2 separate regions of the Homo sapiens genome follow, and region 2 is linked to region 1. Evidence: promoter capture Hi-C in 16 types of primary human blood cells and fetal thymus (Javierre and others, 2016). All regions are on one chromosome and are shown on one strand. The core of a region is centred on a gene start or on the middle of the fragment in contact, and the rest is flanking DNA. Distances in the headings are between cores, read along the strand shown. Region 1 holds the start of SHROOM3 (shroom family member 3). Region 2 has its middle 160 kb from the start of CXCL13.

What was found. Contacts are between HindIII fragments. The CHiCAGO score rates a contact against its expected background, and 5 or more counts as called.
Region 2: a contact is called between a fragment that was not itself captured here and the fragment with the promoter of SHROOM3 in region 1, in 1 of 17 cell types (non-activated CD4 T cells). The highest score is 5.3, in non-activated CD4 T cells.

Annotation. Positions count from the first base shown.
Region 1 is chr4:76,431,794-76,438,089 of GRCh38, forward strand. It overlaps SHROOM3 (shroom family member 3), which reads left to right and starts at 3,436. Exons shown (of 11, transcript NM_020859.4): 1 at 3,436-4,427. The coding sequence starts at 4,260. The HindIII fragment of the contact is 11,529 bases long and covers 453-6,296 here.
Region 2 is chr4:77,443,249-77,449,544 of GRCh38, forward strand. No RefSeq gene overlaps it. Among named protein-coding and RNA genes, the nearest start is that of CXCL13, 160 kb to the right of the region's middle. The HindIII fragment of the contact is 2,301 bases long and covers 1,457-3,757 here.

The sequences.
Region 1 (6,296 bases), core at 2,186-4,685:
GGAAAGTTAAGGGTCTTCAGGGTCAAAACTGCTTTTGTAATAATACTAAGACATTGTGTACCTTTTCCACTTGCTCTCTCAAAAATGTATAGGGGAATCTTCCAGTGGCTATATGCCATGTGATATTGAACAAATTGAATACAGAAGCAGATGGTAGAATCCAACCATCTTCTACTAACCTGGCCATTAAAGAGAGTTGCAAATATGTGAAACAGTGCCACTCTTCTTGGTAATATTTTTTGTTTGAGACAATGTAATTATTTTTCATAAAAATATTAATATGTTACTTTAACATATAAAGATTTATTATTTTTAAATGAATTAATACATAAGTATTTTAAAATGTTCTTTTCTATTTTCTAATATAGTAAATATTGATCAATACAAAACACATAAAATTTATCTGGAGTCTTCAATAATTTTTAAGCATGTAAGGGTTCCTGAAACCAAAAAGCTTGAGAATTGCCAGCTTCAGTAAGGTACAATTGGGCACAAGGCTCAATGGTATCACCAGAACTGTCTCCCCCTTATCATAGACTGCTTTTCTCAGAGCTGGTTTCCTTCTCAGGCGTGTGATATCAAAGATGACTTCCAGCTGGGGCGTGGCAGCTCACACTTGTAATCTCAGCACATTGGGAGGCTGAGGCGGAAGGATCACTTGAGCCCAGGAGTTTGAGATCAGCCTGGGCAACAGAGTGAGACCCTGTCTGTACAAAACAATTTTTAAAACTGGCCAGGCATGGTGACATGCACCTGTAGTCTCAGCTACTTGCGAGGCTGAGGTGGGAGCACTGCTTGAGCCTGGGAGATTGAGGCTACAGTAGGCCGCCATCACACCCTGCATTCCAGCCTGGGCGACAAAGCTAGACTCTGTCTCAATTAAAAAAAAAATAAAAAATAAAAAAAGACTTCCAGCAACTCAAAAATTTTATCTACCAACCTAGCAAACCATAGGAGAAAATGCCATTTTTTGACAGCACTAGTAAAATTTCTAGTTATAACATTGGTCACACTTAAGTCTCATGCCCATCCACATATCAATCATTTGAGCCAGGGGTTGGTTGATTCCTGGGTCATTACGTCCACCCTGGAGCCGGGGACAGGGGCAGCCCACCAGCACCACAGGATCGAGGAAGAAGTGGTTCCCTAGAAAGATGATGAATGGGGCATAAAAGAAGTCCTCTATTAGAAAGCCTGAGTCCTATGCTGTTCTCAGTTAGAATCCCAACCTTTCTTTCCACTGTCAGCACCTTGAGACAATAGAGTTGCCTTTCTCTTCTTGGGGAGGAGTCTGATTGCATTCTGTAATTAAGAGTTTGCATCCAAATCACATATCCTAACAGAAGTTCTTCTTACGAATTAGCAGTGCTATGCCAAAAGAAAGTTGTCTTTTCACCGTAAACTATGCAGAACACCTGACTTAAGCTAGGATTTCATTCCTAAACGTCTGAAGATTTAAATTTCATGCCTGCCTGTGTTGCTTGCAGGATTACTCTGGTCAGATCATTTAACCTTCTGGTGGCCTCTGTGTCCTTACCTCTAAAATCAAGGGTGTGGGAGGATTGTCTCTTGCAGCTTTAACATTCTTTGAATCTGATCAACAGAAGATGGAGGAAAAAAGTTCTTCCAAACCTGGTCTATCAACTGCTATAGTGAAGGTCCACAAAATGAAGTTTTACATTTTTTTTTCAGATTACATATCAATTTTGGTTCTATGTTTGTTTCTTCAATATTTTTGGTGATAATCTAAAATGGAGATTTCATCAGTCTGCAAGCACTGGGTTCATATTATCTTTTCCTTATTTCCTTTGCCTTTAGCTTCATTACTTTTTTTGTTTATTATTTTTTAAATTGACAACTAAAAATTATATATACTTATGGTGTACCACATGATGTTTTGATATAAGTATGCATTGTAAAATGGCTAAATCAAGGAATTAACCTATTACCTCACATACTAATTTTTTTTGTGGTGAGAGCACTTAAAATCTAATCTTAGCAATTTCCAAATATACAATACATTGTTATAACTATGGTCATCATGCTGTACAATAGATCTCTTGAGCTTATGCCTCCTAACTGAAATTTTGTATAGCTATGTTACTTTTAATATTAAATGTGGATTCTGTAAAATCCCAGTTTTTACAAAATGTATTAGGAGTAACATAATAAGAGCCTCATAAATTAATTTTTTCAGAAAGAAAGCTGTTCATTTACCTAGGACTTTTATTTAAAATACATATGTTCTTTGAAATGAAAGAAAAGCTAATGTTTCTCCATTTATTCTAACTTACAAATTAAGCTGTAAAAGAAAACCACAATAGAAATTGCGTAAATTACCCTTAAGAATCAGCCAATTTTTACCACATACTTTCATTTGGTACACCTTAGGTTTCCTTATGTTTCCATTCACATACTACCATTACATAAGGTTTTACTTTTTTTTTTTTTTTTTTGTCTTTGAGCCCTTCAAGTGAAGTTACCATTGAAAATCAAACAATACCTGTCCAGTGTTGTAAATTAAATATCGTGTAGTTTGATATCATATACCTGCCTTTCCATATCAGCCTTTCATTAATTATAAGTACAAACACCAAAATAATTGTTATCAAGCCCCACAGTAGTTTTTAACTTCAGTTTTCAACTTAATTCTCATTATCCCATACTTTTAAACAGAAAAAAGTTTTAGTACATATATTACCTGGAAGTAATTCTAATCTGTTCCAATAACTAAATAGCTGAGGCTTCTGGGTTAGATATGGTTATCTTCTACTGTTCAAATTTTTAATACAAAGCATGAATGTTAAATTTGTATATAACATTATTACAAAATGACACTGGTAACATGAAATCAGAACAACATTCTTTCCCGAGTACCTAGTACTTACCCACAAGGCATTGTAGATTTCTTTTCATTTAAAGAGTGGATAACAATCTTGGAGTAGATAACAATGAAAACCTAGAAAAAAAAACCCACCTCCTGTTTTTATTGAGTCAAACAAGCAGAACTTTGATTGGAAAGTCCCATTTCATATATTACACTGGTAGTATTTTCTTCTAACGAAAAAAAAAAAGCCCTTGTGCCACCACCTTGACATGTACTTAAACGTTTACCCAAATCACTTAGGCATTGCTTCTCAAACTTGGCTGCATAGCAGAATTGCCTGGAGGGTTTTTAAAAACACAAATGCCTATGTCTCACTCCCTGAAATTCTCCTTTAATTGGTACGAGGCGGGGCTATTCTAGGAACTATTTTCTATCCCTTGGCAATTAGCCATCTGTATAGTATTTTTAACTTCCTACGTGTTATTAACTGTAAGACTGTTTGAATTGTCAGGTCTTTGTGGTGAGCTGAATTCTGCATGGCAGTGCTTACTGTGCAGAAAGGTTGCAATGCCTCACTTTGCCTTAATCCATGTTCCTCTAACTTCCTTACTCTTTCTCTCAAGAGGAGGCAAGTGGCTGTGGCGGCCGCAGCAGTGGCTGATCATCACTGAAAATACCAAAGAAAAGAACTGAGCTGCCTCCTTCATATTTTTTCCATTGAGGATTAATTTACCGTGCTTTTTCATTTTCTCTACATCCTGCAAAAGTTTTTTTCTCTCCTAAGAAACAAACTATGAACTGATTGTTGAAAAAAAGAAGTAAAAAGTTTTAGCACAGCTTCTCTGTCTCTTCGGGACAAGTTAGAAAATTCTGAAGTGAGCCGAAGCATAGTAAGTGCTTTCTTTCTTTTTAAGCTACTTCTGGGGAGGGAGGAGGCTATTGTAATGGTAAATTTCACTCCGAGAGGAAGAAAGGGTTGATAATCAATCAAAAATGAGGTATTCCTTTGAGTATTTGTGATTTTCTTACTATATTGTAAGATGCTTTTAATTTTCTCTGTAAAATAGGCAGAAATGGTTTTAGTGTGTGTATGTGTGAAATAAAAGCTCAGAAAAGCAATCTTCAGAGCGCCACTGAAGGAAGTTTTGACGAACGGAGTAGAGATGTATACCACTTGGGGGCTTCAGTGAGAACCCAGAATTCCTGGAGGAGGATTTACATTCAGAAATGTTGAAGTGAAAATTCCTTCTGGTTCAGCATCTTGGAGTTCAGCTTGGAAGAACATTTTACGTATGGAAGAATTTGCTTCTCCAAACCTCTCTTTTGGCCATTGTGTGTCCTGAAGGATGGGACAACTTGTGCTGTAGAAGCACTGCTTGCCTGAGTTTGCTTCAGGCATTTTAAATTTAACTTGAGGGATCATGTGTTTGGCATGATGAGGACCACTGAAGACTTCCACAAGCCTAGTGCCACATTAAACTCTAACACGGCCACCAAGGGAAGGTACATTTATCTGGAGGCATTCCTGGAGGGAGGAGCTCCCTGGGGTTTTACTCTAAAGGGTGGCCTGGAGCACGGAGAACCATTAATCATCTCTAAGGTATGTTTCTTTTTCCAATATTGCCTTTATTCAAATTGTTTTTTTCAACTTGTCAGATTTGTCAAAAATGCAAAATAATGAGAACTGCCTTAATATAACTTAATTTGCTGTTTCATGCCTTTCTGATTATCTAGAAATATTTTGGATAGCCTGGGATTTGAAAGAAAAATGTGTCTAGCTCATTTATTCTATGAAATCCGAAGAAAAATATGCCTGTTTGATGGATAATCTTCTCTTTTTGTGAATGAAATCGCATACAATCAGTTACCACATGAGCTTTTCAGTTATAAATCAGATTAAAGATTAATAACATGGTTAAGATGGTGGCATGGTATATATTTGTGCATTCAAAAATATCTGCTTTTTCTCTCTTCAACTGAAAATAGCATCTAAAAATATTTTAAGTTTGCTTATAATTCTGGATAATAGATTGCATAAATACCATGTGTTGCTTTTTTTCCCCACACTCAGAAAGGAGAATTAAATCAGCTTTCAGCATAACTCAAGATCAAAACATTTCTGCCTCTCCTATTTATCTGTATATTTGAATCCCTTTTTAAACCTTAGTCATCCTGCAGCATACCTCAATTCTTCATTTATCTTTTGGTGTGGGTAGTCATACCAATGAAATATTTATGTACTGGGGTTAATATTTCTATTTTTCTCTTAAACTACAGATTAACATTACTTGTTATAATATTGCTTTTAAATTTTTAGAGTATTTAATAGTCTGATACAATAGATTATAATGGCTTTTCACACATGTGCATTCATCAAGAAACATTTGTAATTAAGGGAGAAAAAATTTTTAATTTGAGGGTGGGAAGAAGGTAATATGGATTGCATTTGAGCTCTGTTATTGGTTCAGGTTACTTTTCATATCCCCAGAAATAATTCCAAAAGGTTATTTTTCAAATTACTGAAGTAATTCTTACTGTGGATGAGCCAGGGAGAACTGGGTTTCACAGTGATAAGCCACGAGTGCACGGGACACCATTATAAGTTGTATGACTTTTCCTTAACTTTCTTAAGTAAAACAAAAGGATGTGCATATGTGTGTGTCAGTTAGGAAGGCTTCCCCCTGTGAAAAAAATTCAAAACCGAGTTTATAGTGGCTCTCAGTAAATTGGGGTTTGTTTTTCTCATATTACAAGAAGTTTGGAGGTAGATTTTCCAGGCAAGGGGAGCAGCAGCTCAATAATGTGATCAAGGACCCCACTTATCTCTCCACTCTGCCATTCTTATGATGTTGGCTTTGTCTTCATGGTTGCATGATGGATCCCACAACTCCAGCATTGATTGCATCTTCATTCCAGACAGGTTTTTGGCTTTTTGTTTCTCATTAGACCTTTGCTTTCATCTCATTAACCAGAACTGTACCCTGTGCCTGTCTTTAGGCCAATCACTGGTAAGAAATGCCAGTGATTAATACAGACTGATTAGGATTTCTTTCACAGGTTTCTACAATAAGGACCTACTCTTCCTGAAGTCAAGGAATCATTGCCCACTGTTTGAATGATTTGAGGTTCTTTTTGCAGGAAGAAAGAGGGCATGGTTGCTGAATAACAGATAATTCTGCAATGAACATAAATATTGTCTCGGCATTTAAAAAGTCTAGTTGTACACAATTTGCCTGTCCCTTAATGATAAAATATTCTGTATCTATACACTACAGTATCTGACAGTTTGCTGACAGAAAGGTCTAATCCTCCCACTAATGAGCCAGCTTCTCTAAGCCTCCATTTTACCTGCAGAATGGGGCTATCCTACTATCTACTTTAATGGGTTGTGTTTAAATGCAACCATGCATTTAGGTTAGTGTCTAGTACACAGAAGGAGCAAAGATTATGATTATTGCTTTTCATTATT
Region 2 (6,296 bases), core at 1,357-3,856, 1.0 Mb after region 1:
ATGCAAATGGGTGCCAAGTTGACAAGAAGTGGACTTGTGATGGCTAATTTTAGATGTCAGCTTGACTTGATTAAGGAACACCTGGAGAGCTGGTAAAGCATTATTTCTGTGTGTGGGTGAGGTGTTTCCAGAGGAGACTGTCATGTAGGTTGGTGGACTGAGTGAGTGAGTGGGGAAGATCCACCCTCAAGGTGGGTAGGTACCAATCAATTGGCTAGGGACCCAGATAGAACAAAAAGGCAGAGGAAAAAAGTCTCTCTCCCAGAGTTGGGACATCCTCCTCCTCCACCTCCTGCTCTTAGATGTCAGAACTTCAAGTGCTCTGGTGTTTGGACCAGGGACATACACCAGTGACCACCCCCACCCCACCCCCAGTTCTCAGGCCTTTAGCCTCAGACTGAGAGTCACACCCTTAGCTTCCCTGGTTCTGAGGCTTTTGGACTTGAACAGAGCAGTGTTCCCAGCATCCCAAGTTCTCCAGTTTGCAGATAGCCTGATATGGGACTTTTCAGCCTCCATTAACACATGAGTCAGTACCCCTAGTTAATCCCCTTCCATATATTTGTTTCCTATTGTTTCTGTCTCTGGAGGACCCTGACAAATCCAACATCCCTCAGTTCACTATGCTCCTGCAGAGCATCGGTAAAACTTAGTACAAATAAGGAGGTGGCTCTAAAGGGTGCCTAGTAATCATTGTGTTCTTCACCTCCATGACCTTGCAGTAAAATTAAAATTTGAAAAGCCAGAGAATGTCCATGATGGAGCAGTTAAAATTAATTTTATTGCATCTTTTAAGTACATGTCTGATGTTCTGCATGATGAAATGGGAAGTACACATAAAGCTCTTTGCTTATGAAAGTATGATGGCTGTCTTAAAGCCAAGAACTTGTGCAATTGTCATTCTTCCAAGTAGAAATGGTATTCCATGAAGAATGTAGTTCAGCTCACTACTCAAATTACTGTGGCTCAGACTTGGATTTTGGACCGACATTTTCTTAAATGAATAAAGTGAGCTAGTCACTTCAAGAAAACCAGCTGATGGTATTGGTTAGCACTGGTAAAAATTTGTGTTCAGGTAAAATTTAGATTTTTGGAATCTGCCTCCTTGAGCTTGACAACTTCTGATTAAAGACTTTTGTAATGAGAATAGTCATATTAAGAATGTGAATTTTTGCTATTTTATAATGAAAATACCAACATGTAGAAGGTCTGCATAACTCCACCAACAAACTTTCCAGATGACCAGTGTATGATAGTACAAAATCACATGAGATAAATCCATTTAAAAAATAAATCAATGGACTTGAAGAGAGCATGATGTTCATTGATACAGCTACTAATTCCAAATTGCAACTCATCTTTACCAGTTGAGTTTTGGTATAGCATTAAACAAATATCCACAGTTACCTAAAAAGGCATTAAAAATATTTCCTTGTGAGGTTAGATTTTATTTATAAGCTTCAAAGTAACATTGCAACAGATGGAATACAGAAATAGGTATGGGAATTCAACTGTCTTCTAATCCACCAGGTACTTGCAAATACATAAAACAATGTTGCTATTCTATTTTTTGTTTAAGAAATTTTTTCATAAAATGACATTTTGATGAGATTAACATTTTTAAGTTAAATGTTCTCAAACTTTAAAAAAATCTTAGTATTGTGTATGTCAATAGATAAAATCCACCCAAAAGCTAATTGGGCTTTTCATTTTAATAGCATAAAAGGGTCCCAAGACCAAAAAGTTTGAGAACTGCTCTACAAGTTCTGATCACTTATTTCTGTCATGCTGAGAATAGATCTTGAAGTTGCCAGAGGCCAGTACTTCAGTAGTTTGATCCTTCTGTTTGCCACAGCTTTCAGTTGCCTATTTATCCTTTTCTACCATCGTCTGGTAGTACTTGGAAATATCAAAGAAATATCAGAGAATAAACCACTATCCAAGAAGAGGATAGTTGCAATCTGAAGAGTCATTGGCCTTCAAGGAAAAAATCGACTAGAGAGTACATGTAGTTGGACTGCATATATACCTTGGCAATATTTGTCTTCAGTTCTGTTGGAAGTTAACCTCCTGTGTTATCCTCCTACCTTCCTGGGGGCAATAGCCTACTTCAGGATGTGAGATCCGTAGGTGTAAGAACCTGTCCACGTCACTCATAAGAAATAATTCTTTCAATATAGGTTTAAAGTTTATGTTTTTAAATGTGTTCTTAAGAGGATTTCAATCATAACAGCTACTTGTTAATTCTTTTTATGTCTCTCCCTCACACCAACTTACATCATATATTACAAACTTTGGCTTTGGTGAGTGTTTCCCTAATCATTATTTTGCACAAGTATGTACATACTTGTGTAGATACATGTTTTCATAATGTTCATTTCGATTATATTACATGTTCAGCATGTTTCCATGACCACAGAATAGATCATGAACAGATTTCTAAGGACAAATGGTTCAATATTTTCAAATGTTGCATAGAATTGGATGGTTATGGACTTTGTATAATTTTTAACCCTTCCCATATAGTTTGTTGTACCCAAATTTTAGTTCTTGTAGCTGTTCAAATGAACAGGCATATACATCTATCCTTACACAGTTTTAGAAGTACTTCCATAAGATTCATAGGAGTGCAGTACAATCCTTTTAATTCAAGGAAGTGGGATCCAGAGGGCAAGAAATCTATCTAAGGCCAGATTCAAACCATAACTGTCATCAGGGATCATAAAATTTCCATGATGCCCTGTCAGCTGCTGTTCAGCTTACATGGTTAACAAGGAAGAAAGGGCTCTTCCTTTATTAGTGTGATGGATAGACTACTTGAGTAATGGTTGAAAGCCTAGGCAGTAATTGTCATGTTTTTGTCATTCTTTTTCTAAGTATGGCTCTTAAATGTCAGGGACATTTTTCTTGGCAGAATGAACACAATTTTTGTGTGCAGGGGACAGAGTTGACCTCCTGGGACTGCAGGATTTTTGTTTTGCTCCTCCAAGGTAGTCCATAGATATAATTTGAGTACTCTAGTATAGTAGCCTATGCCATAGGGATAGAAAATAACTCTGAACAAAAGAAGGAAATCAATGCCCTGTGATGGAGAATGGGGTTAAATAGATACAGCTGCAAGAGGCGAATTATCAACTCTACTTGGAGATTCACAGTGAGTGATGCTTAAGTTGAGATTTGAAGGGTGAGTAGACGTTTATCTTGGAGGGCATTCAAATCATAGAGAACAGCACATGCGGGGGCTCGGTGTTCTGAAAGTCACTGATATATTCAGGCAAATATCTTTTTTCCTACCCTGGGATTGGTAGAAGTTGCAATGGGAGGTAAGCAGGATCACATCACAGAAGGCTGATCCCCTGTTATAAATTTGGTCTCTCTGACTTCAATATTCGCTTGAGTTACTGTAATGACCTGGATGAGAAATGAGGGCATGAATGATGGAATAAGACATGATGGATTTGAGAAATTTAAAGACTGAACAGATGCCAGCTGAAACTTATCCAGGGTCCTAGTTCTGTTGAGCCTCAAACTAATTGGGAGACAACTGGCTGCCCAGGGATAGGAAAGTTGGTAGTTATCCAATTTGATTCGAGATTTCCTGAGTTGAGATCCAAGTTCACGTCACTCAGGGGCAATAGAAGGCATTTAGCCACACTGCTAATATTTGATTCTGAACTTCTTTACAAGACAGTGTGAGAGCGGTCAAACTTAACAAACCACAAATCTAAGAATGTAATAGGTTATGAGCACAATTCAAAGCTTTAATGCTGGTCACTCCTAATGTAAAAGGTTGGTGAAACTCCAGTTTTCATACAATTGATGTCCAGTGCCAAGGTCCATACTAGATGATACTTTCTAATTTGATTATACTAATATGGTAATTGAGATGTGCTGAGCTAATAATCTAATGATTGAAAGGCAAATAGTTGCACATTTATACTATTCTCACTCCTAAAATTCTCCCCCATTTGCTTTCCCTGTAACTTCTCTACACTAATGTGGCAGTTTGGACTGCCCATACCGGCAGATCCCTGGCTAATCAGTTTGAAAGAGTTTCAAATGAATGACATTCGATTTTAAAACAAAAAGCCCCCTGGCTCTTGTAAACAGAAATAAATGTAATGAGAGGTGAGAGGATATTGGGTAGCTCATGCAATTATCAGGAACAGGGAATCAAGCTCAGAAAATGTTAGGGGGATAGTTGACAACACAGCCCAAGAATCAACTGAAGGCATCAGTGCTAGGATCTCATGCAGCTGGCAATGCTGTCATCAGTCAGTCTGGCGCAAACAACACCAAGAAACAAAGACACTGGAGACTTGACACTTTCATTAATAGATGCAGCAGCACTCAAAGTCTCATAGGTAAGCATTTGATTAACTCATTCTAGGTCATGCCCAGCTCCCAAGAGGATAAGGGAACGTTGAGACTACATTTGGACTGCTAGGTTTGTAGCAGGAAACAGGCTTTGTCATGTGCAAGATCCATGTAGGAACCCATATAGTAAGGGGTTCTATTGCCACACTAATGTAAAAACACTCCAAAACTTAGTGGCTTAAAACAAACATCTACTATGCTCACAAGATCATAGGTCTGCTTAGTGATTCTTCTGGTCATAGCTGGGCTCACTCTGGTGGTTGGCTGGCTGGTAGCTAATTTAAGATGGCCTTAACTGGGACCACTGGCCCTATTCTATGTGTCTCATCTTCTAACTAGATTCTGGACACAATTCTCATGTCAATCACAGATCTCTAATATCTAGGCCCAGACCTGTCATATTGTCAGTTCTACATTCAATTTGCCAAAGTCAAGATTCAAAGGAAAGGGAAATTGTGGTTCCTTCTAGTCATCAAGAAGTAGAACCTAAGATTGGATGCAATAATAGCTTCAGTTCTCCACCTCTCTTTCATCTGCACTTTTTTTACTCTTACAATGAGGGACAAAGTCTCTTGTCCACCTTTTCACTGGGAAGCTCAGTTGATCTTTCTATTCTTTCAGCTATTAACGGCATCTATAACTAAATATGTCTGATTCGTTCTTGTACAAATTGCATATTTCACACAATTCTGGGTCTTTTTTTTTTTTTTTTTTGGAGAGTCTCACTCTGTCACCCAGGCTGGAGTGCAGTTGCACTATCTCAGCTCACTGTAACCTCTGCCTCCCGGGTTCAGGCAATTCTCCTGCCTCAGCTTCCCAAGTAGCTGGGATTACAGGCATGTGCCACAGTGCCTGGCTAATCTTTGTATTTTTTAGTAGAGAAGGGGTTTCACCATGTTGGCCAGGCTGGTCTTGTAATCCTGACCTCAGGTGATCCACCTACCCTGGCCTCCCAAAGTGCTGAGATTACAGGAATGAGCCTTATTTTCATTTCATCTAACTTAGAGATTATCTCACTTATAGACATGTCAGTAGCATAAATTTCTGGAAGTATAATTACTGGGTTGAAGGATATGTGCATTTTAAAACTCGATAGATATTGACAGCCTATCATGAGAAACAGTACACATATACCACCCCACCCAGAAATCTGTGATTACTTGCTTTTTCACCCCCTTGCCAAAATGACAATGATAAAACCATTTTATAAACACACTTTTTCAAAGGTATCTCAGTGAATTGTTAAAACTCATTTTGAAATTTTAAAATTACAGGAAAGTTACAAGAACAGTAAGGAGCTACTATCTCTCTTTTGCACAGACTCTCCAATTATTGACTTCAGGTATTTGCTCCATCACTCTTTATAAATATCCATTGTCATTTTCTGAACCACTTGAAATCAAGTTGCTAACATGATACTCCTTCACCCCTAAATACTTCAGTGTGTGTTTCTGGAAAACAGGGACTTCTCTTATAAAACTGCAGTGTAATCGTCAAAATCAGGATAAGCATCCCTGAAGGAACCCTGCCATTCAGAAGTGATGCTGTTCTCTTATTAGTGGATCACATCAGGACCTGCCCCACCACTGATGTTAACCTTGATCACCTGCCAAACTTACAGATAGAGAAACCTGCCATTTTCCCCTTTGTAATTGAGAAATATTTTGTGGGAAGTACTCTGATAAATGGGATATTGGCCTAGTCTCAAACTTCCACTCACCAGCCTTAGCATCCATTGACTCCCACTTGAATCATCACTACAGTCGTTGCCAAATGGTGTGTTTATTTCCGTTATTCTACATTTGTTGGCATTCAATTGTGAGGAAAGTAATTTCCTTCTCATGTTTATTACTATATAATCATACAATTTAATTCAGTGGGTTATAATCCATTACTCTCCTCTATTTTGATGCTAAAAT